Regions from separate parts of the Homo sapiens genome. Here region 1 is linked to region 2. Evidence: promoter capture Hi-C in 16 types of primary human blood cells and fetal thymus (Javierre and others, 2016). All regions are on one chromosome and are shown on one strand. Each heading gives the region's core, a stretch centred on a gene start or on the middle of the fragment in contact. The rest is flanking DNA. Distances are from core to core; before and after follow the strand shown.

The links. The method cuts DNA at HindIII sites, captures the fragments that hold promoters and counts their contacts. A CHiCAGO score of 5 or more calls a contact.
Region 1: the fragment with the promoter of DNTTIP2 here is called in contact with the fragment with the promoter of PKN2 in region 2 in 3 of 17 cell types (naive CD8 T cells, total CD8 T cells and non-activated CD4 T cells); the score reaches 9.2 in naive CD8 T cells.

The regions. Positions count from the first base shown.
Region 1 is chr1:93,877,918-93,881,018 of GRCh38, reverse strand. DNTTIP2 (deoxynucleotidyltransferase terminal interacting protein 2) reads left to right here and starts at 1,813. Exons shown (of 7, transcript NM_014597.5): 1 at 1,813-1,942. The coding sequence starts at 1,871. RefSeq lists enhancers at 991-1,806, 1,658-2,087. The HindIII fragment of the contact is 5,310 bases long and covers 1-2,304 here.
Region 2 is chr1:88,682,859-88,685,822 of GRCh38, reverse strand. PKN2 (protein kinase N2) reads right to left here and starts at 1,550. Exons shown (of 22, transcript NM_006256.4): 1 at 1,195-1,550. The coding sequence starts at 1,242. PKN2-AS1 (PKN2 antisense RNA 1) reads left to right here and starts at 619. Exons shown (of 4, transcript NR_110682.1): 1 at 619-659. RefSeq lists enhancers at 1,276-1,355, 1,386-1,715. The HindIII fragment of the contact is 6,383 bases long and covers 1-2,964 here.

The sequences.
Region 1 (3,101 bases), core at 564-3,063, 5.2 Mb before region 2:
GCTACTTGGCCCTACTAAAATTTATTTTTGCTTCTTACCACATTTGCCACAAATGTTGATATAAACCATTTCCATTCTTCTGAGATGTATCACCTACTTACAGAGGTTATTATCTACCCAAAATCTTCTCTTCTTCACTCCACTTGAACATACTTGCATTCACATTCTCCTCTCTGTTTCAGATATCAACTCTTTCCTCCTGGCTCAAAGGAAGGTGCATTCTTTTCTGACTACACCCACATCTCTGTTTATTATCCAGTTCAGTTAGCATTAGGCTCGGCTGCAAATAGAAAAATCCTTAATTAACAGTGGCTTTTAACAAGGTGTTTCCATCAGGTGAAAAATCTAGAAGGCGGCTCTTGAGGGCTCATAGGGCAGCTCCACAAGTTGATTTTTCCATCTCACTGCTATGCCATCTCTAAAGCATGCCTTCATCCTTATGGCACAAACTTGCCGCCTGAAAACCAGCGAACCCAACTTTCCAGGAAGTAAAATGCACTTTAAAAGATCAGGAGGGCTGGGCGAGGTCGTTTAGGCCTATAATCCCAGCACTGTAATCCCAGCACTTTGAGAGGCCGAGGCGGGTGAATCACCTGAAGGCAGGAGTTCAAGACCAGCCTGCCCAACATGGTGAAACCCCGTCTCTACTAAAAATACAAAAAAAAAATTAGCCAGGAATGGTGGCGGGCGCCTGTAATCTCAGCTACTCAGGAGGCTGAAGCAGGAGAATCGCTTGAACCCGGGAGGCGGAGGTTGCAGTGACCCAAGATTGCGCCATTGCACTCCACCCTGGGCGACAGAGCAAGACTCCGTCTCCAAAAAAAAAAGTCAGGGACGGCCTCCTCTCTTTTAGATGCCGTCCCTAAAGACATGCACACAATTTATACCTAATTGGCTAAAACGTAGTCACATAGCCACATTTGGCTGCAAGAGAGACTATAAAATAAGCTATTTTAAGCTGGGAAGCAGTGTGTCCATCGACACAGTGTTCTGTGACTTTAAATAAAAAATTGGTTTTCTGTCATGAAGTAGAGACTAGGTTTGGTGAGGCACTCATTCATCCTTTCTCACCTCCAACAATAATTTGCGTTTACTTATTTTTTCAACCCCTTCCCATCCCCTCAAACATAGTTCTCTACCTTTTATCTCAAAAGATAACCAAAGAAACCTCTTGATTCTGGTCATACTCTTCCTTTCACTGTGACAATAACAACAACAACAACAACAACAAAACCTTATTCTTCTCCTTTACAATTTCTTTAACGTTTTTTTCTTTTCTGCTATTCCCAATCCCTAAACACCATCTCACGTTTAGATTATACAGCTTTCCACTTCGTCTCCCAGTTCCTGCGAGCACCTTATATCCCTTTTACCCCAACCAAGTCCTTAAATTTTATTTATAGTTAGCGTCACAATACACGAGTAAATATTGTCTTTCTTTAAAAAGCACAAATATCTCAAACTTCTCCCTTGGACATACCAATGGCTACATTAAGCTCTTTAGAACGTAGAAATGAAAGAACGCCTCCCGGGTTCAAACGATTCTACTAAACAAATGAAAGAACGAATGGCATGTAAGTGCGTTTTTACAATTCATGTGAACGGGTACGCTAAGACCCTCTGTCACTGCGGGCTTCGCCGCCCCGATGAAGGTCTTTCCCAGCAAAAATCTGGCTTGCCTTCTACAGCTCTGAAATGCACACTTAAACCCAGGCCCTTTGTCTCTGACCGCCCTGGCCTGAACTGGCTGGGCGGAGATTCTCGCGAATTCTCGGATCTGCGCGGAAAACGCGCTCGAGGCAGTTCTCTGACGCATTTCCGGAGCGCCAGGGAAGAGGGAAGTCGTGGTGGTCGCGAGGGAGCCGGAAAGATGGTGGTTACCAGATCTGCACGGGCTAAGGCCAGCATCCAAGCCGCGTCGGCTGAAAGTTCCGGGCAAAAGGTAGGAAATCCAGTCTTCCCTACTTCTCGCCGCTTCGCAGAGCCGCGCTCAGGCAGGCGGGGCGGCGCAAGGGTCCGGTTAAGGGTGAGGACCTGCCGACAGAGAGGACCCGAGCTTGCCGCGCGCTTGGGTCTCCCAGGCCCCGTGCTAAGCCTGTCACGGAAACTGTTTAGCCTTCACCACTGTCTCTTAAGGCAATTTTTAGTATGGAAGAGAGGTTAGATAACTTTATTTGGGTCGTTCAACTCCTTAATGCAGAAGCACAGTTCGAACTTTTAAACCTTACTGTTAACACGGTACCAAGGAGGGTTAATTTCGGCCACCATGCACAAGCCCCATTTAGGGGGGCTGGAAAAAAAGCTTCGTTTTCACGTGGGGAGGCTGGCAGCTGTCCAGCATCACCTCCTTAAGGCGTGAGGAGGGCTGTGGTGTCGTCGCCTGGTGACTCTTAGTGGCGTTAGTCGGCTGTCTCATTCTGACTCAGCGATGCAGGGAACGGAGCGGCGGCGATTTTTTCCTGTACGTAAAGGTAAGGGCGGCGACTGATTCCATCAGTGTGTTCCTAAACACATCGGTGTTCAGAGTTAATATTCCCTTTCTCCCCTCTTCTATAGGTGGGTCAGAATGTTGGTCTACCCATTATATTTGACTTTAAACAGAAAAATTTTAATCGTTCTGCTTCTGAAGTTACATCTAGGAAGGATGAGGCTAGTGAAGTAAATGCAGGGTTGGCTCCAGTGTTTAAATTTTGATTTTTTTGTTTGTTTGTTTTTGATTCGGAGTCTTGCTCTGTCGCCCAGGCTAGAGTGCAGTGGCGCAGCCTCGGCTCACTGCAACTTCTGCCTCCCGGATTCCAACAATTCTTCTGCCTCAGGCTCCTGAGTAGTTGGGATTACAGGTGCGCACCAACACGCCCCGCTAATTTTTTTACTTTGAGTAGAGATGGGGTTTCACTATGTTGGCCAAGCTGTCTCGAACTCCTGACCTCGTGATCCACCTGCCTCGGCCTCCCAGAGTGCTGGGATTACAGCCGTAAGCCACCGCGCCCGGCCAAATTTTGATTTTTTAAAAATCATGAGTTGGGCAGGTTTTTTTGTTTTTTGTTTTAAAGGTAATCTTGTTTACTGGGTTTTAGCTTTTGGGGTCAGTATTTCATTTG
Region 2 (2,964 bases), core at 301-2,800:
CAATACTTAATTTTGACATCAACTCTTCAGAATTTCTTGATTTAGTCTTTTTTTTAAAAAAAATTAACTGTCCAACACACAAAAAGAAATGCAGGCATGCTATTTTTTTCTCCTAATTCCCATCTACAATCTTTGAGTAGCTAAAAGATAACTATATTAAAATAAAGCAAAATAACTTTTAAGTCAAAAAACAAACATCTCTGGAACACTCCCAAGTAATGAAAAACCCGACAGGGTAGCTTAAGTCCCCATGTACACCATAGAGATCTAAAGAAAATCGTGCCTACATTATCAAATATTTATCTGGAAATGGGAAATAACATTGCTACTCGACATGACTTAACTAAGCGATCTACTTTGCTCTCATCTTTTGCAGACATGTGGTGCCCAATGTTTTCCCTTAGTCGACTGCTTTCTCATTAGTAAACAACTTATTAGCTCTTTCTCTGGTGCTCAAATGAGAGGGAAAATGAAAGTCTGAAAAGCATCAGCATCTGAGCTCCCGGATCTGGGCAGGGGTAGCAGAGAAAGGCACCCTGTATTTATCACTCGGTTAAAAAAAAAAAAAGAAAGGAAAAGAAAAGAAAAAGATAACCCTCAAAATAGAGGAAAGAAACTCTGTCACCTGAAGAGGGCTGCTGAAGTGAAGCAAACATTTGGTGAGACTCGTTTTTTAAAAAAACTTGTCTAGGGGCTGGAAGTTATGGGGGCGCTCTTTGTGCGGAGTCTGAGGGGAGGGGGAGGGACAAGAAAACAGCTTGGGAGTCATTCAAAGGAGTTTAAGGAGCGGTGTACGGAGGAAAGGCGGGGCGGGGCCCGGCCGCGCGAAGGGAGGGGGCAACAGGGGCGTTCGCGGGTAGCTCTGACACCGAGGGAGGGGGCGACGGGCCGGCCTCTCCGGGGACCAGGCGAGAGCAGGCTCCCGCTGCAGCAGGGCTGCAGAGATGGGGTCCCCTCTGGTAGGCAGAATCAAACCAAAGCGGTGGCAGGCCAGGGCTTTGGCGGGGGAGAGGGTCCGGCTCCCCAGGGAAGCGGTTCCCCGAGGGAAGCATTTCCCGAGTGACATCCCGGAGTTTCCGCACTTAGCGGGCTAGGGGCGCGGCGGCCGCAGGGCTTTCCTCGGTCCCCGACGCCGCGCGGGGCTCTCTCCCTGTCTCCTCCGCCAGCGCCTCTCACCAGGGCCGCGGCCCTTACCTGCAGTTCCGTGAGCAGAATCTCCCCCCGTTCGGGGTTGGACGCCATTGCGCTCCGGTATGGACTCCGCACCTGGACGCGGCCGCCTCTGGCGAAGGGAGAAGGCGGGACGGGGCTCGGGGTGGGGGTGAGGAGAGGGGAGAGAAAGAAAAAAAAAAAAACAACTAGGGATTCATGGAGGCGCAGCCCCTGCTGGAGGCGCGGCTTATTCCGTCCGGTTCATCGAGAGCGGCGGGGAGCTAGGGCACTCGTAGCGGGCTTCCTCTCGCCGCCCTCACCGGACTGTTCGTCTAGTCGCTCCCTCTGGGCGACGCCAGGAGCCGCCTCAAGCCTCTCCGTGCGGGCGCTGCGGCCGCGGCTGCAGCTCCTCCTGTCGCACCATTTGGCTGTCACCGCGTCGCAAAAGCGGCCTCACTTGGCGGCTGCCAGCACACGTGACGGCGGCAGCCACTGCCCCTCATCGGGCAGGGAAGGTGGGGCGGAGGGGTTCCCTAGGGCGAACGCGGCGAGGGGGCGGGGCGTCTTCCGACCCGACTCCGCGGCGAGGGCAGCCATTGGACTCGGCTGGGGTGAAAATGAGGGGAAAGGACTGGGCTCGAGTCTCTGGGGAGGCGGGAAGAGGAAGAAAACACACGCCTACTTTCCTGCTGCGTTTAACGGCTTCACTGTGAACGCTAGAACTCGGGAGCCTGCTCGCTGTTGTTTTTTCGGGTTTCGTTTTTTTTTTCTTTCTTTTTTTTTTTTCCCAGTTCCACCTTGCCGAAACTTGGGCCTAACTTTAACAGGCCCTTTTCTAACCTCCATAACCCAAAGAGCTTCGGGACTCAGATCTTACAGATTATTCCTCTGCTCTCCCCTTGACCCCCACGTCAACCCAAACTAATAATCTTGCCTTTTGCTCACCCTCAAACCCAGCCCCCAGCGCGCCTTCTCGACCAGTTAAGGTGCACAGCTAGCTAAACGGGTATGGTCTGTACTTTTCATGAAATGTAAGCGGCTGGATCCCTGGCAACTTTTAATGTACGGCCTTTAAGATGTCTTTTTCTTGAGGTTGAACTACTGTTGCTTGTACTGGAGAACTGTACAGAGCTGAGAATTAGCTGGGTTTTTTTGGGTTGTTTTAACTTTATTTAAGGGAGGGGGAGGTGGGACGGGATTACCCTCGGGAAAGGAAAAAAGCCACCTTTCCTTGGCGTGGTAAGCATTAAAGCTAACCTGACTACTTAGTAAAATATAGCTAAGTAAAGTAAATCTAGGTGTTTGTTTTTAATGACACTATGGTATTAAGGAATTTCGAAGTCTCCTACAGGTAGCTTTTGTTTTTGTTTTGTCTGAGCAGTGAATGGATAGGTAAACGCGTAACTTTTGATTTTTTGAAGCTGCGGTACAATACCTTTGTTAAAACTACCTGGAGAGAGTGGTAAGGGTTATTTAGGTACGTTGCTACTTAGAAAGGGCATTCGTTGACATATTTCTTAGGAAGTGTAACATTATGTACTTCTCACACGCTCCATGTAACTCTGTTGGCCTGATGCCAGGACTTAACGTCTATCCTTTTGCCTTCTCAAGTCTCATACATCAATTCAGCAAACATGTATTGAAGATCTGGAGTTCTGTGGCCACAGTTTCTGAACTCTAACTTATCATATGTGTGATAAAGAATTTTTCTGGTGTGTACTTCACAAGTCTTACAACTATTTATGTGTCTAGTATATTGCCTTGGTTGAAGATGATAATTAAATACATGAAAGAACACTTGGAAAGGCCGGG